3 separate regions of the Homo sapiens genome follow, and regions 2 and 3 are each linked to region 1. Evidence: promoter capture Hi-C in 16 types of primary human blood cells and fetal thymus (Javierre and others, 2016). All regions are on one chromosome and are shown on one strand. The core of a region is centred on a gene start or on the middle of the fragment in contact, and the rest is flanking DNA. Distances in the headings are between cores, read along the strand shown. Region 1 holds the start of VCAM1 (vascular cell adhesion molecule 1). Region 2 overlaps CDC14A (cell division cycle 14A). Region 3 holds the start of DBT (dihydrolipoamide branched chain transacylase E2).

Region 1 (3,623 bases), core at 874-3,373:
TTCTGTAAGAAATGTTCCTCTAATCCACACAGTTCGATGTCAGGTAACATAAGAACTTGCTACTTTTCCCTGTATTTACATAAGGGAAGCTTTCAAGGAGCTCGGGAGGCTGCACAGACATAAACTATGCACATACAACCAGCATAATTGAAAGCAGCCGGCCAAGCACAGTTTCTTGGGAAGCTTGAGCAACACATGCGGTTTGTTGCAGAATCAATTAAGGTTACTGGGAAAAGTTGAGCTCCGGTACAATAAAACGAAACCAAAGTAATTATAATCAAATGAGGTCTTCATGAAGACATGACCGTAAATGGGTTCAGTTTTTTAGAAAGAGAGGCCATCAGTAACAAAAGGCAAATGATTTATGTCTGGTTAGTTTTTTACTCCTCTTGCTAACTTTGTTTGCTGAATGGAGAATGGAGTGGGATGCATTTTGTCAGGCTGGTAAACTAGGGACATCCACTCACTTTCATGAGGCAAATCTAGTTCATTATATAAATATCTTTGAAGTTGAGCGGTTGAGCACCAAGGCTTCATGGCACCAAAAAAACCAAAAAAAAATCCTAAATGTGTCAACACCAAAGTCAAATGATTGAAATGTTTCCAGATATTAACAATTATGTCTAAGAAGAACACTTTTATACTAATACATATTACTAATTATAGATCTACTTAATGTTTAAACTAATTTTAAGCATCAAATTGCATAAGAATAAATGAATAGAAAATCCCTGAAGGATGGAATTCATAAATCAATCAGACACATAAGCAAGTAAACATGTAAGGATGTAATCAAATGGAAATATTTTTTAATAAAACAAAAAGAAACTTAGAAATGATCATTTTACAGCTAAGGAAACCAGAGCCCAGAGAGGTTGAGTCTTATACATGGTCACTGTGTTTGTGGCAGAGGTAGAAATAGAAGCCAAGATTTGGATTCCTGCTCTCTCTCATGTTGGCCTTAGCTGTCCCTAGCTTTCCTGATGTTGTATGTTCTTTAGCCAAGAATCTGTACATGAATATCCATTTTAAAACTTTTTTTAAAATATCATTTTTAAAAAGTGATTTTAAAGTAAAATTGAGAGAAAAACAAAGATTTTCTAAAGCACTCACAGTAGATCTCCACCTGGATTCCTTTTTCCAATTTCCTAGATTCACAAGTTGCTGTGCACAGGTAAGAGTGTTCGTTCCCAAAACTAACAGGATTCATTGTCAGCGTAGATGTGGTCCCCTCATTCGTCACCTTCCCATTCAGTGGACTATCTATCTGGGTTCTCCAAGAGAAAAATGGGGACTCACAGCCTGTGGTGCTGCAAGTCAATGAGACGGAGTCACCAATCTGAGCAAGATATCTAGATTCTGGGGTGGTCTCGATTTTAAAAGCTTGAGCTGCAAAAGCAAAAAAAGACAGAAGCAAATTTACCACTAGTTTGTCTAGTATTCTCCTCCTTCTTCTCTGTATAATGTCTAAAATATGATCAGACTGATCTCTTTCCTAAGCTGCTTCAAACTAACTGCAAGGTAGCCAAAAAGCACCGAAGTCACTGCCAAAAAAGTTTATGGAATCATCTTCAGTAGAGAGAATTCTCAGTTCCAACCTTGATGCCCATTTATCAAAGCTGTTTTGTTATTTGCTAAGTTTGACCTCATTGTCAAGTATAGGAAACTAAAGAGACAGACCGACTAGAGACAGAATCCAAATTACTCAATTGCCTTTGGAAAAAAAGATACCAAAAACATCAATTTTCAGCTCTAACTATGACAGTACAATGGTATATAGCAAAACTCAATTGCATATTAAAAGTTAGACTAAATTAACTTTTCCTACTGTTTAAAATCCTAGTGTCTTTACTTCACTACTATCGCAAAACTGACTGAAGCCAAAACCAGGGCTAAAATTGAATGCTAACATTTGAAACAGATGAAGGGAAATAACTTACAAGCTGCAAACATTATCCAAAGTATATTTGAGGCTCCAAGGATCACGACCATCTTCCCAGGCATTTTAAGTTGCTGTCGTGATGAGAAAATAGTGGTTCCAAAACCCTTATTTGTGTCCCACCTGTGTGTGCCTGGGAGGGTATTCAGCTCCTGAAGCCAGTGAGGCCCGATGCAGATACCGCGGAGTGAAATAGAAAGTCTGTGCTTTATAAAGGGTCTTGTTGCAGAGGCGGAGGGAAATCCCTTCAAGGGGAAACCCAGGGCAGAGCCAGGGAAAAAAGTTTAACAGACACCCAGCCAAGTTCCACTATTAACCCCTTCAGTTGCTCTCACTGCTGAAGCTCCTCTCTCTGTCCTGGCAAAAGAAGACACTTCCAAGACTATAAAATACAGGCTTTTCCTCATCTTCGACTCCAAAAGGCTATCTTTACTGGAAAGATAAAGGACAATGCTGATTGCAGAATGAAGCTTTCTGAATCCAATGTGGGTTAAGGGGGTGGGGAGAGAAAAAATGGAGACAGAGTAGTAAATTCTACTCTGGTTTTTGAACTGGATAAATAACGACTATGCCATGTGAATTGATTTTCTCCATCAAGGAAATATGTTTGCAATTCTAAAAGAGATTAATTTTTTTCTCTTACAAGAGAAAGGAAAAAGTTATTTCTTTTGATGAGTCATTTTTTAAAAAAGGGACACCATAACTTCTTAGTTTTATATTTATTCATAAAAATAGTTCTTTTAGCAACAAACATCAACTTTTTGAAACTATTTTCTTGAGTAGAAAGTAAAGGACTGTAACTGAAATTGCTGCCAAAACAAGGGAAACAATTTTTTTTTGTTTTAGAAAAGTTACCAATAATTTGGTTAAATTGCTGGATAATTGGAATTTTTTTGCATACTTAAATGCAAGTGTATGGAATCCATCTGAAGTGGCAAATCTCTTGGGCTGTGAGATTTAACCGCAAACCCAGTTAAAAAATTAAAAATAATAGGTTTTTATTATAGGCAAGGGGACAATAACCAACTCTATGTTCCTTTTCCCCCCAGTGAAGTGCCTTTTTAAAAAAATCCCAATTAACTAACTGGCTTAGCCTTGCACACACATAGCCCAAGGCCTTGCAAAATGCTTGCCCATCAAAAAGAAACCGGAATAGCCACTTCCTTTTATTAAACACGTGCAGGTCTATCTCCCCCATTGGATCATCAGTTCCTCTCATGGTCAGGACCAGTTCTTGTTCATTGTTGTATCTACTTCTACAATATCTAATGCATGATTTTCCACTTAGTGGATACAAAAAATGCAATAATAAACGTTATACATTTGGAGAAGAAAATTCTAAATACTAGCAATAATATGTAAATACGGCATGAAAAAACTGTTAAATTCTACAAGAAAATTCTAAAGCTCAGAGACTCAATGGGATGTGTACAATAAACTTGTACTATATAACATTTGTACTCTGTAACAAAGGCCATAGCTGAGGTCTGGAATCTATAACTGTCCCTACCTGGTTGGAGAGGCTTCTGGATCTCCTCTTGGATACTGATGTGGCTCCCACTAAAAGACAAGGAGGGAAAAATAAGTTGGAGATGCTGTTCTAGGGTGTGGGGATATATAGGTATGACTTCACCTACCAAATATCTAGGGATCAGAAAAATTGATTCAGGAAATACTAGCTTAT
Region 2 (3,493 bases), core at 851-3,350, 260 kb after region 1:
TCCCCGCACTTTGGGAGGCTGAGGCAGGTGGATGACCTGAGGTCAGGAGTTCAAGACCAGCCTGGCCAACATTCTCCTGAGGTTAGGAGTTCAAGACCAGTTCTGGCCAGCAGAACCCCATCTCTACTAAAAATATAAAAAATTAGCCAGGAGTGGTGGTGGGCACCTGTAATTCCAGATACTTGGGAGGCTGAGGCAGGAGAATTGATTGAACCTGGGAGGCAGAGGCTGCAGTGAGCTGAGATCGCACCATTGCACTCCAGCCTGGGTGACAGAGCGAGACTCTTTGTCTCAAAAAAAAAAAAAAAGAAAAGAAAAGAAAAGAAATTTGCAATATAAAATAAATACATATATTTTTTAAAAGGTAAACATTCACAGGTCAAGGATATAGAGAAAATATCTGTAATAAGAATGTTTAACACCAGAGAGTTTTCTTTGCACAAGGTCTCTCAGGTGAGAAATACTATCAAGAAACACACTGAGTTTTAATGAAAGCTTTGCAGTTCTTCTCCTTTGAATGTGTCAATCCAAGATACGGATGGCTAATCCACAGATAAACTCTACGACGTAGTAATAATAAAACTACTTGAACTAAGAAATAAGGCCAAATTAATCTCAGGAAAAAATACAATTTTTATGGCACAAAACTAAAGTTTGAAAGAGAAGATAGGATTATCTCCTGCTAAACGTTGATATAAACGTTCCCATTAGCTCTCAAGTTCTATTGCTGTTTAAAATACGTGACATGTGGGCTTTTTCTTGGACCTGGGCAATACTGAACAAAATGCAATGGAAAAGCAAACAGGGTGCAAATGAATCACATGGGGACAAGCCAACACACTGGCACCCCACTGTGGCCTGAAAGCAGCACCCACAAATGAGCCAGCAAGTGACACCTTCCTAACAGACTCCACGCCAGAGACAAGATATCCCACAAAGCCAGGGCCCATCCTGCTAGCTAATGGGGAGGGTGGGGAGGGAGAGCTCTGCCCACCCAGGAGGAGGGAGCCTGGCATGGGGAGCCCTGCTCCAAACCCAGGCCACGTGCTGCTCATTTCCATCTCTCTGGGTCTCTGGGAAACCGCAGCTTCCCATTTTTGCTCACATGTTCACAAAGTACCTCCACCTACTCAAATCTTAAACATAGAAACAAGGGCCTACAAAACGGCATTTTAATTTCTGTCAGAACCAAAGCCATACTCGTCTGAATAAGTCAGTTACAGCAGCACTAGGCACATGAAAAGAACAGCACCCTCCCCAACACCTACTAGATGATTAGCATAAAATGAGAGGGAAACCGGGTCTAGACCCAAAACCATAAGCACAGCACCACCCAGCGACACTAGGAGGAGCTGCACATGAGGAACTCGAGGCTCCAGCCCAGGGCGGCCCTAGTGATTTCTCCTCGCTGAAATCAAAGACCCAGTAAAATATCTGGAATATTTCCAGTATTATCCATACCGAAAGATCTGGAATGGAGTGGATTTTAAGCCTCCTCGAAGTCAAACAAGCTTAGAGCAAATGGCATGTCATATTTTCTGAGTAGCTGACATGGGGTTGCCAGATAAAATACAGAATGCATGTTCCCTGCAATATTTGGGACATATTTATACTTTTTGTTTTAAAAGTATTCATTGTTTATCTAACTTTCAAATTTAATTAGGCAGCCTGTATTTTTATTTGCTAAATCTGGCAATCCTAAACCTTCTATAGTCTGAACAATTCCTGCCCCAAAGTATCCACCCCCAGAGATCAGAGATTTTTGCAAAACAAACTCTTTAAGTTTATTCCATGAGGCAGCATCACATCAGCAGCATTGTAAGCTAGCGGATTGCCCCTAGCAACAGGCATGGAAGACGCTCTGCTCCATGAAGCCAAAGACTAGGAGGGGAGGGAAAAGCAGAGACTGGAATGGGGGTCCAGATAACTGGGTCATAAAACAGAACCACGACAGTGCAAGAGGATGGAGAAGAGATGGGCAATTCTGAAAAAAAACAAAGGAGAGAGGAAAACTAACAACCCTTGTCTCTTGAGAATTTTACCTGTTTAAAGGTGTTCCTGCAGCCTAAAGACACTGCTACTGTGTTTCCCCTCATTGTGGCACGTGGGCCTGGAAAGGTAAGGTCTGAAAAACTGGCATATCAAGAAAGCCACACCACCACCAATTGTCCACACCCAAGCAATCGTTTCTTTAAGAAGGGGTTATTAAAATGAGTTTGTGTCCCAGTTGTCTGAAATTTAAAACCTCATTGTTTTTCTAAGACACTAAACAGGTTTTGTTTTATGTTATTTGCTCTTCCTTGGCCCGCCCCTTCGATAAGCACAGCCACCACCACCGAGGCCTTGCACACACCTTTGCAGTGAACGGCGATGGCCCCTTCGGTGTTCTCACAGATGTTCAGGAACCTTCGCACGATGTTGTCACTGGGTGTGCTGCCATCTATGAAGAAGAGGTCATAGTGCTCGAAGCCAGCGTCTGTGAAGCGCTTTGCCTCATAAATCTTTTTGTTTAGCCTCACAACTGCAGTCACATTATGCTTTTTGAAATAAGGAAAGTAGGCTTCAGGGGCGTGAAGAGGATAACCTAAAGGAACAAAGGAGCAGTAAGCAAAAGGCATGCATTTCATCTTCCACAACCCAGAAATACAAAACTCTCAACAATGAAGTGTATAAATCTCAACAAAGCTTGGGAGGAAAGTGTGTTGTGTGAGAGAAGAGGTCACAGCAAGCTCCTACAAGCATCAATCTGCATAACTGTAAGCACCACAGGAGGTTAAAAAGAAAACTTCTGTAAGTACTGAAAATACATCATTAAAGTTCAAAATCTCAACCTCTAGATTCGAATCCTGGGAGCATACTCTTCCCACTCCCAAGACAAAAGCATTCTTGAAGTAATCAAATGTGCATAACAGACCTAGAATGGTGACTTTATTCTCTCTTGAGCTTTATTCTCTACTTGACAAACAGTTTTCAACTACAGCTGAAGCTTTTTTGCCATATGTATAGTTTTAATTTGTAGTACAATGCTCCCCAGAAGCAATTATTATTAAGCACCTACTATGTACAAGTCACAATTGCGTATCATTTCAAATTCTCAAAACCATCTCTTAAGTATGGCTAATTCCATTTAACAGATTAAGAAACTAAAAGAGGGGGTGTTGGGAGGATATTGGTCAAAGAAAACAAAATTTCAGTTAGAAAGGAGTATGTCCCAGAGATCTATTGTACAACATAGTGACTATAATAACAATGTATTATATACTTTAAAGTCATTTAGAAAGTAAAATTTAAGTCTTCTCACCACAAAAAATGATAAATATGTGAATACTTAAGTAAGACTTGACTTAACCATTCTACGATGTATACATATTTCAAAAGTTGTTGTACACCATAAATATATAATTTTTATCAATTAAAATATAAATTTTTTTAGTTAAAAATAAACAATAACTTTTGTGGACACTTCCTTTTTTTGAGGGAGGAAGATGCTCCA
Region 3 (3,729 bases), core at 779-3,278, 470 kb after region 1:
AATAATGTAATATGTGATCTTTTGTGCTTGTATTCTTTTACTTAGCATAATATTTTTTTGACATTCATCCATGTCATAGCAATTATCGCTAATTCAGTCATTTTTAAGGATGAATAATATTTCAGAATATGGATGTACCACATTTTGTTTATTCACCTGTTAATGGACATCTGGGCTGTTTCTAGATTTTGGCTGTTATGCTGTTATGATTATTCCTATTCAAGTCTTTGTGTGAACACTGTTGTCATTTCTCTTATGTAGCTATCCAGGAGTGGAATTGGTGGGTCATAACTGGCCATTTTTAAATCTAAAAAAAGAGAAGAAATGGGGTCTTTGTTTCTTTCAAACTCGAATAAAAGAATTAACTAGGGAATAGATGGTGTATTTCTTTCCAGATGCTGGAATGAAAGATAAGGACACATATTATACTGAATATAGAAGCAAGAATCCATTGACATAAGAAGACGGTAAAGGAAAATAAACTAGTTATCTTCTGAGGAGCAGGTACAGTTAAAAACGAAATTAGGACAAAGAAAGTTGTATAGCAGCAGCTTGGAAGGGAGATGATTCACTTCAAAGGTACAACTGCCACTGCTTTTTATACAAACACATGCTTGTGGGATTATCAAATATATTAATAATGTCTATAAACATTTTTAAGGAAATGTAAAAACTTGAAATTCTTTTGACTACTCTAGATTTTCTGAGAAAGATAGCTATTTAGGCCGGACCCAGTGGCTCATGCCTGTAATCCTAGGACTTTGGGAGGCTGAAATGGGAAGATCGCAGTTTGAGACCAGGACTTTGAGACCAGCCTGGGCAACATAGAGAGATCCCATCTTGAACTTCTGAGCTCAAGCCATTTGCCTGCCTCAGCCTCCCAAAGTGCTGGAATTATGGGCAGGAGCCACCACGCCTGGCCCAAGAGACCCTATCTCTACCAAACAAACAAACAAACAAAAAAGATAATAAGATTTATTGTTTGCATTGATTTTTTGTGTGTAGATGTGTAATACATAAAATGGCAAATGAGGGGGAAAAGTGTTTGGGTCATATTAAACAATGAAGTTGTGAAATACCTGAGATTTTGTTTCATAACCACTAATCTTCAATGTTGAGCATTTAAAATGTATTTGTTCCAGTTTTTTTTCTCTGTAATTCCTTAGACATCTGTGCAGATTTTCATTCCCACGTAAGAAGCAATAACAGACTAATGTCATCCTGGACATTTCCAGGAATTGGTTTCCTAGTTGCTCTGAGGAAGATTGCCTTTTAAAAGAAAGCTCTGATCTGTTCTTTACCAGTTCCACTTGACCTGAATTTGACATTTCTTTAAGAGACAACTAAATCAAGATCATGTGTCTGTGACATGTATTGCATATGCTAGTTAGCTGCATCTGATAGCAGTCTGTAAAAAGAAAGATGATAACATGTTTATTTTAGACATTAGGTAATGTTCATCTTTCATGAAAAAAATTGATTAGCCAATTTTGGTAATCAAAAACATAAATGGGAGTAAAAAAGGCAGTCATTGGGAAGTACTGCTGTATGGACTTGTGAAACAACTAGTTGTCCAGAGCCTTGCTACAACGTATAGAAATATTCTATTTTCTGTATTTGGGGCGGCTACACTACAAGATGAAGACGGGGAAATGTTTTCCAACTCATCGCTCAGGTCCTACTGCAACATAACTTTCTTGAGGTAAGTACCTTTCTTTGTGTTTCCTTAACACTCTCTATTTTCCCCATCACATACACTAAAAAGATTATCTTTGGTGCATCTGTATTTACACAGCAGTGTTAAATTTGGGCTGCCCTCTGCCCCGCCTCCGTCCCCCAGGCTCTTTTCACTCCCCGCTGGGTCCCAGATCCTAGGGTTTAGCTCAGGCTCCGCCCTACTCCTTGGTTGGCTGTTGGGTGGGAGGCTCGTTTCTTCCCTCCCTATTGGTCGCCCAGGGGGAGGCGCGTTTCCCATCTCCTGATAGGCCGCGCCGAGGAGAGTCTCTCCAGTTTGCGGCACTGTTGTCATTTCCGGGGTAAGATGGCTGCAGTCCGTATGCTGAGAACCTGGAGCAGGAATGCGGGGAAGCTGGTAAGCACGTTTGGGCAGATCTGAGGCCGGGAAGGAGTGATTTGTCCGGAGTCATCCAGGAGTGGTGTTTTACTTTCTCCTCCGGTGCCAGGCGTCCAGGGCACGCGTGATGGAGAGGTGAAGGGATGCATGCAAAATAAAGGGCAGAGAACGGAGCGAGTCGACCAGTCTGGAGTGGAAACCCACTCCCTCCCCTTACCTGGAAGCGCTTCTGCAGCGACTCAGCCGTCCTGCTCCATCTGTACCCCGAGGCCCAGCTAGCGTTTTATTGAGCGCCTTCCAGGTGCCCAGGCATTGTGATAGGCGCTGTGGATCCAGAGATATATTCGTTTAGCATTTATTGCGTACCCACAGTATGCCAAACACTGGTAACACGACCCCTACCCTCAAGGAATCTACAGTGTGTAGAGGAAGAGGCCGTTCAAGTTATAGAATATCAGCAGGGGTCCCTGCTTCCGAAGAACTGAGCAGCTCGGCGTCACTCTTTTGCCTTGTACTTCTATGTCCGCACCACATATCATTCCTACCCTTTTGTCACCAAGGCTGTGACCCATCACCATCTCCCCTGCACTTCCTTCTCTTTCTCCCAGTCTTAGCACCAAGCACTGACACATACCGGTAATGATACTTGTTACCCCTATTTGCTTAGTGTTTCTTCTTCCTGCCTCTTCTCCCTTTCCCTAGATGCTCCTGCCTTGGTGACCCCGATCTTACAAAAACTTTCAAGAGCCTGCTATGTACCAGTGCTGTGTTAGGCACTGGAGATACAAATATGAAATAGACATCATATCTTCCTTCTCAAGAGATTACAACCTTGTGGTGGAGGACAAAGGAGAGGGAGACAGATAGAAATTACAACCCAGCATGAGAGGTACTGTGATGGGACAAGTGCCTAGAACTACAGGAACACACAGGAGTGGACACCTATGGTGGACTTGGGGGTCAGAGGAGTTCCCAGAGGATACTGTATGACTTGAGATGTAAGAAGGATAAGTAAGAGATAACCAGGAGAAGAGAGCTCTTCTCAGCAACACTTAACACATATTGGTCTCTCTTCTTTCTAGAGCTTTCCATTCTTGTTTTCTGTGACACCAGTTTCCCAATATTATTCTTTCTTCATCTTTGGCCACTTCATCCCAATATCCTGTTTCCCTTCCCGCCTTTTAAATATTGCTTTTTCTAAAGGGCTCTGACTTTGGCCCTCTGCACTTTTCCCACTTTCTGGGTTATCCCATCCACTCTTTGGCTTTAGTTACCATCTATGCTGATGAGTCCTAAAGTTCCCCAGTCTTCCAACCAGGTCTACTCCAAACCCATATATCCTACTGTCCTGGAAATCTCCAGTTTCATATGTACGTGATGTTTTCCAGCTGCAATTAAAAACCCAACCAATAAATAGGAAATTAAGTATCCATGCATACAGAGCATCCCCAATTAGATGTCAGCTCACATTAAGTGGCTTATGATTATCAATGTCGTCATTTCCCTAGTAGTTCATTTGTCCTTTTCCTACTGTATACAAGAGGGCTGCTACGACTTCTTCTTTTATGTTGAAGGCAGGAAGGTGGAAGAGGAGGAGGTTCCAGTCTCACTGGCCAGAACTGTGTTACATGGCCCCGGCTAGCACAAGGGAGCTT

Evidence for each region. The method cuts DNA at HindIII sites, captures the fragments that hold promoters and counts their contacts. A CHiCAGO score of 5 or more calls a contact.
Region 2: a contact is called between a fragment that was not itself captured here and the fragment with the promoter of VCAM1 in region 1, in 3 of 17 cell types (M1 macrophages, endothelial precursors and M0 macrophages). The highest score is 8.3, in M1 macrophages.
Region 3: the fragment with the promoter of DBT here is called in contact with the fragment with the promoter of VCAM1 in region 1 in 2 of 17 cell types (naive CD8 T cells and total CD8 T cells); the score reaches 6.4 in naive CD8 T cells.

What each region holds. Positions count from the first base shown.
Region 1 is chr1:100,718,242-100,721,864 of GRCh38, reverse strand. VCAM1 (vascular cell adhesion molecule 1) reads right to left here and starts at 2,123. Exons shown (of 9, transcript NM_001078.4): 1 at 1,941-2,123; 2 at 1,114-1,389. The coding sequence starts at 2,004. The HindIII fragment of the contact is 1,026 bases long and covers 1,386-2,411 here.
Region 2 is chr1:100,461,742-100,465,234 of GRCh38, reverse strand. It overlaps CDC14A (cell division cycle 14A), which reads right to left. Exons shown (of 16, transcript NM_003672.4): 9 at 2,354-2,584. Among named protein-coding and RNA genes, the nearest start is that of GPR88, 75 kb to the left of the region's middle. RefSeq lists enhancers at 1,098-1,187, 2,466-3,087. The HindIII fragment of the contact is 1,174 bases long and covers 1,514-2,687 here.
Region 3 is chr1:100,248,133-100,251,861 of GRCh38, reverse strand. It overlaps DBT (dihydrolipoamide branched chain transacylase E2), which reads left to right and starts at 2,028. Exons shown (of 11, transcript NM_001918.5): 1 at 2,028-2,092. The coding sequence starts at 2,042. RefSeq lists a silencer at 1,809-1,908 and enhancers at 2,019-2,138, 1,740-2,299, 2,300-2,859. The HindIII fragment of the contact is 8,889 bases long and covers 1-3,729 here.